Regions from separate parts of the Homo sapiens genome. Here region 2 is linked to region 1. The links are contacts of gene promoters, found by promoter capture Hi-C in blood cells and fetal thymus (Javierre and others, 2016). All regions are on one chromosome and are shown on one strand. Each heading gives the region's core, a stretch centred on a gene start or on the middle of the fragment in contact. The rest is flanking DNA. Distances are from core to core; before and after follow the strand shown.

Region 1 (5,837 bases), core at 2,493-4,992:
CTCGTCCTTCTGCCTCAGCGTCCCGAATAGCTAGGACTCAGACACATGACATCATGCCCAGCTATTTTTTTTTAAGTGTTGGGGTCTCACTATGTTGCCCAGGCTGATCTTGAACTCCTGGCCTCAAGCAATCCTCCTGCTGCTTTGGCCTCCCAAGGCAAGGATTACAGGTGTGAGCCACCACACCCAGCCACACTCCGGCAGTTTTGAACCCAGCCTGTTTCATGCTTCCAAGCCTCTGAAACTCATTTTTTCAATACATTATTATTGGTATATTCTAGCATTGAGGACACAGAAGAAACAAGGCAGACAAGGTTCCTCACTCTAGTGGCATTTACATTCTAATGGAGTAAGACAACAATCAATCAAGAAAATAAGTAGATGGTGATGAGTACTCTATAGAAAAAAGGAGTAGGATGATGTAGTAAGGGATGACTGTGAGGCTATTTTAAGTTGAGTGGTTGGGGAAAACCTCCCTGAGGAGATGCATTGAAGTTGATCCCTGAATGACAAGGAGCCAGCCACAGAAAGCTTGAAAGAGCTTTTCATTAGAGGGAAGACCTAGGGCAAAGGTCCTAAGGGAATAATGAGCTTGGTTAGTTCAAAAAACAGAAAGATGACCAATGTGAATGGAAGAGGTTATCAAGGCCTTTTGCAGTCTGTTCCCTGCCTACTGTCACCTCTTCTCATGCAGTACCACTGGGCATATGATAATCCTACAGAGGCGGGTCATAAAAAGCCTTGTAAGCTAAGGTACAGAATTTGGATTTTCTAAGAGCTATAGCAGAGAGTGAGCCATCTGCTGGGTGATGTGAACTGTAAGAGTCGGGTGAGAGGCAAGAGTGGAAAGCATTGCTAGGAAGCTACTACAGCAATCTAGAGGAAAGATGACAGTCTGGACTAGGCTGGTAATAGGAGGGATGGAAGAAAGTGGACTTATTTGAAATATACGTAGACTCTATAGGAATTACTAATGGATTAGATGTGTGGAACAAGGCACAGAGGATTCAAGAATACATTCTAGGTTTTGGCTTGTGCAAGTGGGAAGATAGTGATACCATTTACTGAAGTGGAACAACTAAATGAGAGGTGTATTTGGGGGATAAAGCTAAGTTTTGTTTTGGGTATGTTAAGTTTGAAATACCTGTTTGACATACAAGTAGAAAAAAGCATAGGCCTATATACATAGACAGAAAAAAAACTCTCTCTCTCTCTCTCTCTCTATATATATATATTCATACTTATCTATTAATCAATCTACCTCAGGAGTTCCATGGAAAAGTCAGAACTAGAGACAGAAATCACAAGAATCAGTATTACATACCCAGTATTCAAAGCTCTGACACATACACCCCTACCTTGTCCAACTGTTGAATTCCTGGTCATCCTTTAAAACCTAGTTCAGACATCATCTCCCAAGGTCTTCCCTGATCACCCGGAGTGAATCCCTTTCTCCCTTCTATTACGTGGGTATTTTGTGGGTACTTATATCTTTCCATTTACGACTGCACGGTAATTATTTGCTGACACATAAAGGCAGTGACCTCATTAGATTCATTTTGGTGGTCTTTTTTTTTTTTTAAGAGATGGGGGTCTCACTATGTTGCCCAGGCTGGATTCAAACTCCTGGGCTCAAGTGATCCTCCAGTCTCAGCCTCCTGAGTAGCTGGTACTACAGGCTTGTGCCACCAAGCCCCCTCACATTGGTCTTCTTCAACATTAACATTGTAAACTATGATGTGTCTGATAAAGTAGACTCTCAATAAATGTCAATTAAATTGAACTAAATTCATCAAACTCACAAAGTCAGAAGCAAAAGTTAAACTGACAAAGACAAAATGCTGCTAGGTGAGAATTAAAACTTCCACCATCGCGCGGGGGAACCATAAAAACAATCAAACCCTTTTTCTCCCTACATCTAAACTAATAAGTCTACAGACGCAGAAAAGGAGGACGAAGTTCTCTTATTTACAGAAAAAAAAAAAAGGAGTTGAGTGCAAAGTGCCTACAGTACTTATTCTCTCAATGACTAACATTATGACTATCTGCCCATAAAAAGATCTGCATAAAAAATGCTGCAGTGTGTCTATCACCAAACAATGTATCATTTATACTGCAAAAGTTGTAGAAGGAGGGTAGGCAGCTTATAAATACTCACCAGCAGACAGTGGGCAAAGTCAGGACCTCCCACTAGGCCAGTGAAATTTCCCAGCTGCTCAGCAAGAGCTAATAGTACCTCATCTTCATCATAAATTGTATCTGGAAGTGACAACAACAGGACTCATCAACATGGATAGCTCTCCCACAGCTGGACACTGACACAAAACTAGGAACAGATTCACTATGCGACCAGGAAGGTGACCCAGTCAAAATCCTAACAGCATTTTCTTTCTTCTCAACCGTCTTCCTGTATCTGCTTTGCACAACGAATTAGAAATTCATACTCCCGTATCAATTACTTTCAATAGCTAAATGGTTGATGTTTGAATATATCTAGCCACAACTAACAATATACTCTGTTCTGTTTCTTTTGCACAAAAAACACCTGGCTCATTTTAATGTGGGTAATAAACTCTAAAAAAGTCAGTGTTGAAAGCTACTGGAAAATGGAATGTCCCTACCTTTCTTTAAACAAAGATTCACATACCTGTAAGAAATGGCAACAATTCACTTCGGGTCCTTTCTACTCCAAGTGCTAGGGCAATTGTTGATAACTTCTTAATACTGTTGAGTCGGAGCTTCAGAAAAGAAAGTAGAAAGAAGAACAATGTAAAGAAACGGCTGAATTTAGATCAAAAGACAAAAGGTGCTAACAGGTGAAATTATGACACAGGGGTAAGAATGAAGATAACCTTTCATTTAGATTTTACTGTTAAGGAAGCTCATAAGGACTTCCAAAAAGAAGTGTAACTCGGCCTCACTAGCCGGCGGAGGATTTCCCAGGAGAAACACTCAGAAGGGACCGGAAGAGAAATGAAGGAAAGACAATACAACACCTAGGAAGTAAGATAATTTTAAAAAGAGAGCACTTTGGCAGTGGTGAAGCAGGTGAAACGGTTGAATACAACACCTGTGGTTTCAAAGAAAAGTTCCCACAGAGCGGATACACTACTCGTCCAGATTAATCGGCCATCCCACCCCCGCTTTCTACCCAACAAGCCGAGCCAGTTCCAAGCCGAGATGAAGGGATCCAGGGGCACTTCAAAGGGCTTCTGGGCATCCTGCGCCCCTCAGCCGCTCCAGCCCCGTCTCGGCCTGGCACCGCGCTTCTCCTGCTCCCTCGCCCAAGAGACGCGGCCACCTCACGGCCCGGATGGGGCGCCCAGGCGGGAAGCGGGTTCCCCGACAACCGCCCGGGAAGGGCAAGGCTCCGGGCGGACGCCTCAGGGGGTCCGAAGCAAGGTTACTAGAGAGGTACCCGGGAGGGTCGGGGCGTGTCACCACAGCCCCTCGCGGAGCATTCCCCGCCTCCCCTTCAAGTTTCTGCTACGAGTCCGACTCATTCAGTACCTCGGCCACCCCCACCGCGACGCAGGCCTTCCCCCTTCTCTACCACGCGACCAGCCGGTCTCGCCTCGGGTCCCCGGCCTCAGTCCAGTACCTGCACGTCTTCATTGCGGAGCTCGTCGATTAAAACCGCGATCGGGTATAGCGAATCATCTCCATCTCCACCCGCTGCTCCTGGGCCGGTCCCGAGCTCTGATGCGCCCGCCATGTTCTTTCTCCTCCTGCTGCTGGTCACCGCCTCCCGCCCCGCGCCCAGGCCCCGCCCCGCGCCCAGGCAGTAGGGACGAAGGCCGCCACGCTGGTTTAGCCGAAGTTGGGGAGCCGCGTTTCTGTCCCGATGATTAAGGCTCCCTTCTGACCCCCACTGCAGGAGTTGTAGGTCTGAACTCAAGAAGACGGGTGGGCTAAGAAAGCGAATGGAACCCCTGCGTCCTTTCCCCAGCCGAAAGAAACAGGGACAGGGATTCATCCAGCTCGTTGTAGTCTGAAGGAGCCAGGAACCTACCTGAATGATCTGCGCTGTGCCCTCTTAAGACTCAGGCGGACCAAAGAGAGTGCCCGAGGCCAGGAGGAAAAAGGCTTTAGCACCTCCCCTGACTTCTTCCTGGCCCTGAGCCACTGGATCTCCAGCCCTAATTTCTCCGCTCAGACTCAAACTTCCACAGAACCCCTCCACCTCTTCCCGCGGCTCTTTCTCCAGAATGGTATCTGGCTCCTGCTCCGTAAGACAAATAACGCGGGCGGTGAGAGAAAATGAACAGTGCTGTCCAAACTCCCCAGTCAATATTTTTTCCACGCAAGCTGTTAAAAACATGCTGCTCTCTTGTTTTTGTGTTTCTTTTCAGTTTGGTACTGGAATGGTGCCTTCTGTTGTATTTTCTTCCTCCCATTTTTTAGCTCTTTAGCATGCTAGAAGTACAACAATGAAGCAAAACTAGGACAAGCTTTAATCCTTCCAAATTGGGTGGGGTGGCTACTTTCTTGAGCAAGAAAACCCAAACTGGCCTCCCTAGACCTCCAAGAGTCCTCAGAGGCAGCAAGGGGAAGAGGTGGAGGTCTGGGAGCTCGTTCTTACAAACCTGAATGGAAAGTTTTCACTTACCCCTGTCAGGGTAGCACAGAATAATTAGAATGTTTTGTTTGTTTTAGACTGGAATTTAAGCAGCTTGGAGTGATAACTACATATGGTGATCACAAGCTCCGAAATGGTAATTCTATGTGCCTGATTAATAAAACTATAAATGCAGTGTAGGAGACAAACTTTTTTAAAACATGGGATTCTGAGGCCGAGGCGGGCGGATCACTTGAGGCCAGGAGTTCGAGACCAGCCTGGCCAACTTGGTGAAACCCTGTCTCCACTAAAAAATACAAAAATTAGCTGGGCTGGTGACGGGAGCCTGTAGTCCCAGCTACTCGGGAGGCTGACATGAGAATCGCTTGAGCCCGGGAGGCAGAGGTTGCAGTGAGCCAGGATCGCACCACTGTACTCCAATCTGGGCGGCAGAGTGAGACCCCGTCTCTAAAATAAATAAATAAATAAATAGCGTTCTTGGAAGTAAGCACAATAGAGCCTTTGAATGAATGAATGAAATAATGAATAAATAAATAAATAAATAAATAAATAAATAAATAAATAAATGGGGTTCTTGGAAGTAAGCACAATAGCTAGAGCCTTTGATAGTAATGAAAGTTTGGGAACCAGCAGACCTGAACAGTTTTTCTCAAATTATGTCTGCGAATGTATTCTCTAGGGTTTTAATTTTATTTTCATTTTCATATTTTTTAGATTTGTATAAGCATATTCTGAATTATTTGGGTGACCACCTTACAACCAAGTATTGCCACACAATTTCAGCACCCACATTTACATGTGTGTTTTAGTGCTGCTTTTATTGTTCTGGGATAATGAGAAAAGAACAGAGGTGGTTTTAAAATGACAATGATACTTTCATGCACAAAATGAAAGCCAAATGCATCATGAGATTGCACTATTTGGTAGTTGTAACAGAAAAATGGTGAGAAAATTAAGATATCAGGAGTCACTTGGTGGCATAGGCATGTTGAACACAAAAGAAGCTGAGCTATAGCAGGCAACACCATAGTAACAATACGACGGATGACAGTTTTAGCAAAATACATCATTTGTCACGTTAAATTACTATAATATTTTTAATTGAATAGTATTCATTTTGTGGTTTCATTTGTATTTAATTTGTAAATTTGTTGTGGTTTTTTTTTAGCTGTGTAAGAACTAGAAATAAAAGCACATTTTTCCTACTTTATATTCGTAAATTTAAATAACCACAGCATAATAAAAACAATTTAGCTAA
Region 2 (5,837 bases), core at 2,450-4,949, 240 kb before region 1:
TGGCATTGTGCTAGGAACTGGCATACAATGATGGACAATGACAACAAAACATGTTTTAACCTATTTCCCATTTAGAAAAAAGAAGTGCAGCTCACTGCCAGCACAGTGTTCTTGGGGCAAATGGGAAATGGGTCAAAGACACGAACTCTGCCCTTATATGAAATTTGGAGTCTAATCAGGGAGATAAATATTTCTGAAAGAATTACAGTGATGTTAGGATAACTTAATAGGGTGGTATTGATCCAATCAAGGGAATCAGGGAGGATTTCTACAAAGATTAACCAGACTGAGATTTGAAGGAAGAGCGGGCATTAACTAGGTCAGAAGGAGGTGGTGGAGGGAACATTGGAAGAGCATTCCAGGCAGCGAAAACAGCATGTGCAAAGACCCTCTTCTGGGAACAGGCACCGCACATGTCAAAAGCTCAATGGCCAATGTGGTAATATGGGAGGAAGGTTAGGCTCCAGTAAGAACAGTAAGAAGCTACTGAAGGGTTTAAATTGGGGAATGAGAATATCACATTTGCTTGAGAAAGATCAGCAGACTGTAATATGGAGAATGTATTGAAAGTGGCCAGAGCAGAAGTGGAAAAACCAGACTGGAGGCCATCACAAAACTTCAGTCAGGAGGTGATGCGATGTGAATTAGGATCATGCAGGTAGATGAGAAAGACCAGATAGATTGAAGGGATAGTTAGGAAGTAAAATAACTAGTATTTAGGGTTATATACTGGATATGGGAGGTGAGGTACAGCAAAGTATCAAAGATAACTCAGTTTTCTGGCCGCTTGCCTAACAGGATGGGTAGTGTCATTCTCTGAAACAGGAAACATTAGATGAAGATCAGGTTTGGGGGGTTTTGTGGGGGAGGGGCTACAAGTTTAGTTTAGACTTACCTAGTTTGAGATGCTTTTGAGAAAAGCAGGTGAACTGTCAGATAGGCCTGTGAATATATGGGCTAGAAACTCAAAGAAGAAGTATGAGCCAGAGATGAAGTTTGAGGTCATCTGTGTGGGGAATCCCTAACCTCTCCTTCTTAAGTCATTATGGGCAGAACAGGAAAGACATATCTGAAAGATGAGGTCAGTATCATTCACCCACTCATCATAGCTCATATAACCAGCAACAATGAAAATCTTCAAGACTCAGTAGTCTTTGCTAAGGAAAAGCTTTGATAATTATTGCAAACTGAATCATCAATAACATATAATTCAATCATATAGAGTTACCCTCAATATATGTATACTTTGTTGAATTTTAAAATGCAGTGCTCATTTTATGCTCATATTTTCTCAATATTAAAATACAAATCTCACTTATTACTTTTTTAAAATAAGTGCCTTTTAAAGCAATATTAAAGCAGTTTTTTAAATCACTTGTACTTCTGCTCTGCATGCATTTTGTGTGTGCATGCATGTACGTTCTTCAGGCAATTATTATTGGTAAAATATATGTAACAGATCTAAGAAAATATATGTAACAGAACCAAGAAAATACACATTTTTTTCTTCCTCACAACAGATAAATTCATACTTGATTGAAATCTGCATTTAAGAAAAATTGTATTGACTCCCTCTTATATAATGACTAATTTTTTTTCTCATTTTAGTAAGTTGTTATTTTTCAAATGAAAAGTGTATATGTCAGACCTAGGAGTTGAGCCAAGATCAAGCAATTTCCAGGAGGTATAGAAAGGTGCTTAGATCTGCATCTTTTTCCTGCAAGTCAGCATTCTTCCTTTCTCTGATTAATAATCCTGTAACATCTTCGATCCACTCCCATAGATTACTATAGTTAGGTCTATCTTTTAAAATCAGATTATACTGGGGAAAGCCTTCTCACTGATTATTCAGCCTGTCTTTTAAAGTGCATAGTAGATAATTTGAGGTCCAACAGTTCTGTATCTTATTATTAGAGTAGATATAAATTTCCTATATGGTAGTTGTAGAATCAACATAGCAGATTTCAGTTAATAGGCACAGGGAATGGTAGTAAATTCATAGAGTAAATTCATAGTTGAAGCATTCTGTTATCAAAATCAGCAAGCCAAGATGCATACTGCTTTTTGAAACCAGGCCCAAATATGAGATGTTTTAAAATGATAAATCAATAAAAACCTTAAGTCAATCATAATTCTCACCTTCCTAATGATTGCATTTGTAACATAAAAATGAAATGGAACCCACTGAGGAGTGAGATTCTTGCAGAATGTGAACTGAAATTCCCTAGTACACCTATAGACAGTTAACTCTCAATCACTGGGATAGAATTAAAAATTAAGGCTAGGTATGGTGGCTCATGCCTGCAATCCCAGCACTTCAGGAGGCTGACCAAAGTGGGAGACTGGCTTGAGCCCAGGAGTTCAAGACTAGCCTAGGCAACACAGGGAGACCTCATCTCTACCAAAAAAAAAAAAATCGTTTTTTAATTAACTAAGCGTGGTGGCATGTGCCTGTGGTCCCAACTACTTGGGAGGCTGAGGTGGGAGGATTGCTTGAGCCCAGGGGGCAGGAGGTGGAGGTGGCAGTGAGCCCTGATGGTGCCACTGCACTTCCACCTGAGTGGAGAGCAAGACCCTGTCTCAAAAAAAAGAAAATTAAATTCTGGAGGCTCAAGGAAATAAAAATCAGATAATGTTCTCAATTTCTGTTAAACCATAGAACCTTGGCTCTGCCTAGGTAATATTCTGAATTTGGAATGTAATTCCCATTTTACAATTAATTTATAATTTAAAATCCTTGCATAAATATTTCATTTACACTACGATCTTAGAAAGCTCCTCAGTTTATAAATACCACTATAATTCAACTATCTTTACCCTTTAGCCACATCTTGCAAAGAGCCACATGATACCTTCAAATAAGTAAATTAACTATGATCAAGGCTGAGCTCAAGCTGGATTAGCTCCACCTGCTGTATTCTGATAAGCATGCGTTTTCTACAAGAATAAGAATGTTTCTGTGAGAGCAGAGACTATATTTTTCTTCTTCAGCATGGTTGATGCTAACTCATTTTTAGAGTAAAGATTGAATGAAGAAACCATTCTGTCACTCTGTGTGTGTGTGTGTGCATGTGTCTGAAGTCTGTGTGTGTTTGAAGTCTGTGTGTTTGAAGTGTGGCAAAAGAAGCACAGGAAATGACATCCAACAGAACTGGAAATGAGTTTAAATCTTTGGCTCTGCCAGTTACTAGTTAGTTAAGTGACCCTGATAAAAGTTGTTCATTTTTACGTGGTTTAGTTTCTTCTACCTGTAAAGAGGTAATAATAATAATGCCCACTTCACTGTGCTATAAAGATAAAATGAGATAACCTATAAGGAACTCACACAAGGCCTGATATCTAGCAGTTACTCAGTGAAAGTTTGTTTTTATCTTCTCTGCTTCCCCCTCTTCCTTTTTTTTCCAAACCCATGATTGAAAAATAAAATTTTAGCAGGTTCAAAATAAGCATTAGCATTAAATGGAAATGCTTTGACTAAAAGGGTAACTCTCAAAGGATGATGACTAGATTACTAAAGGCATGATCACTCAAGTATCCACATCCTGATTAAAAGACAGAAGATTGGCTTGCTCATAGTGTTAAAATGAGACTCATATTATTTTCTCTTAATCTTTTTCTTTTTTTTTAAGACAGAGTCTCACTCTGTCGCCAGGCTGGAGTGCAGTGGTGCAATCTCGGCTCACTGCAACCTCCGCCTCCTGGGTTCAAGCGATTCTCCTGCCTCAGCCTCCCGAGTTGCTGGGACTGCAGGCGTGCACCACCACACCCAGCTAATTTTTGTATTTTTAGCAGAGACGGGGTTTCACCATATTGGCCAGGATGGTCTCGAACTCCTGACCTCATGATCCTCTTGCCTCAGCCTCCCAAATGCTGAGATTACAGGCATGAGCCACCGCACCCGGCCCCTCGTGTTATTTTTGATGAATGTTTCAGTCCAAAAATTTCAATCATAATCCACGAAAGAAATGCAGTTTGTATATGGGAACCAGGTCTTGAGAAGAAAGGACCTTTCTTCTAAAGTCTAGTGTTTATTAAGAGCTTTTTTTATAATTGAATATTAACTGAAAAGAAAGTTGATAACACACCAGAAAATTCGTGGTCAGAAGAATTTGCACTGCATATTTAATAACAAATCATATCTTTAACATCTCTCCTTGTTTCTCCTTTCCTCCCTCAAACTGTATTCACCAACTGACCCATAGGTCAGAGGTTGAATCGTAAGAATTCCTTCATGCCTGTAGACAAAAAGCAGACAATCTGTCCTCTTTTTTCTTACTCTTTTCAAGATTTTAAAAGCACTGAAAGAAAAATTTTCTAATAATAATAGTGTTATAATAACTACCATTTATTAAATGTTCACCATCTGTCATGCATTTCATTAAGTAATTTTTATCTCCAATTTTCACAACAACCTTCCTCACAGATTAGAAATCCACAACTGGGATTGTGGATTCTTTGGTTTACCTAAGATCACGAAGCTCTAACTTACATGTCAGTGATTACTGCATAGTTGTGGTGGGGAAAGGAGGAACCAGGCGGGAGAGTTAAGCTAGAACTTGCCATTCAACACACAGCGGAACTGGGATTCAAACCAAATGTATTTGACTCTACTAATACATATTGCCACTCAAGTCATTTGGCTCTGAAAAGCCAAAAAGAGAGAACCAGACAATTTAACTCTTGAGGTGACATTAAAATTCATTAACCATCTATAACACATTAAATGTATATGTTATATCACATCCTAATTTTCTGGAATCAGTTTTCTTTCACAATTTATTTTTTCAGGAATAGTATAAATATAAATCATAAATAAAAATATAAATATAAGTCACTAGTCAATGGTCAAAGATGTTATAAAGATAAATTCTGACCCCCTTGTATTAACAGTTAATTGAATAATTATAAAGTCTTATAAAATTCCATTAATAAGCCCAACCAAAACACTATAATTAGAAATGAAAATTTTTTGTTAATATGAAATTAAGAAGTAAGTTATGCTTCCTTACTAATAATATAAGTTATAAGGATCTTCTCTTACCAGTGAATTGTATTTAGCTTTCCTGGCAGAGATTTCCTAGAATATTCCACAATGTTTTTGTTTAGATGACACAATTGTTTACACTAGTTTTGTTATTTATTTCCAGGAAACATGTCCAGGAGGCAGAAATCAGATCATATTTGAAATATTTGTTTCTAGTGCATTATGTGATATGTGATATTTAAAGGCACCAAAGTCCTTTATAATAAAAAATAACTTGAAGTCAAGGAAAAAAATGAATGAATATATTTGTTATTCTACTATTATTTTTGAATCTTGTAACTAAATATTTGTCTTTTTATATGAGAAGCACAGGACAATATAACTGGTCCATGATTTCCCAATAGTTACACAGAAAAATTCATATAATTTTGTTCATAGGGGATTTTTAAAACTAAATTTACCCACTGTTTAATTTCATTTTCCAAAACTTTTTGTTTTTTGCTTAGGCCAATAACTGTGGATTACACAGTACAATGATTGCATTCATACATCATGACTCAATCAATTCAATTCAATTCAACAAAAATCCATTGAGTATCACATACAAAGCACTGCTAAGCTCTAAGGAAGGATAAAGAGATGAGTAAGGTTCTGAAAGAGACATGGTGGCAACTAAGAGACAAAGCAGGAACAGTAAGATCAATACCATAATAAAGGTATAAAGTGCTATGTAATCACAGTATGAGAGCAATTAATACTGATTGAATACATGTGTAATGGAAAAGTTGGAAAAGAAACTAACATTGAATACCTGCATTGAAAATATCCCAGGTCTTTAAGGACATTATTTTAT

Evidence for each region. The method cuts DNA at HindIII sites, captures the fragments that hold promoters and counts their contacts. A CHiCAGO score of 5 or more calls a contact.
Region 2: a fragment that was not itself captured here is called in contact with the fragment with the promoter of PPP2R1B in region 1 in 3 of 17 cell types (naive CD4 T cells, fetal thymus and naive CD8 T cells); the score reaches 6.2 in naive CD4 T cells.

What each region holds. Positions count from the first base shown.
Region 1 is chr11:111,762,647-111,768,483 of GRCh38, forward strand. PPP2R1B (protein phosphatase 2 scaffold subunit Abeta) reads right to left here and starts at 3,743. Exons shown (of 15, transcript NM_002716.5): 1 at 3,602-3,743; 2 at 2,648-2,738; 3 at 2,159-2,259. The coding sequence starts at 3,715. It also overlaps a transcript of ALG9 not described here. RefSeq lists enhancers at 2,769-3,672, 3,559-3,738, 3,759-3,808. The HindIII fragment of the contact is 3,920 bases long and covers 530-4,449 here.
Region 2 is chr11:111,525,757-111,531,593 of GRCh38, forward strand. The region is part of intron 3 of HOATZ (HOATZ cilia and flagella associated protein); the gene reads left to right. Among named protein-coding and RNA genes, the nearest start is that of LAYN, 12 kb to the right of the region's middle. The HindIII fragment of the contact is 5,067 bases long and covers 1,167-5,837 here.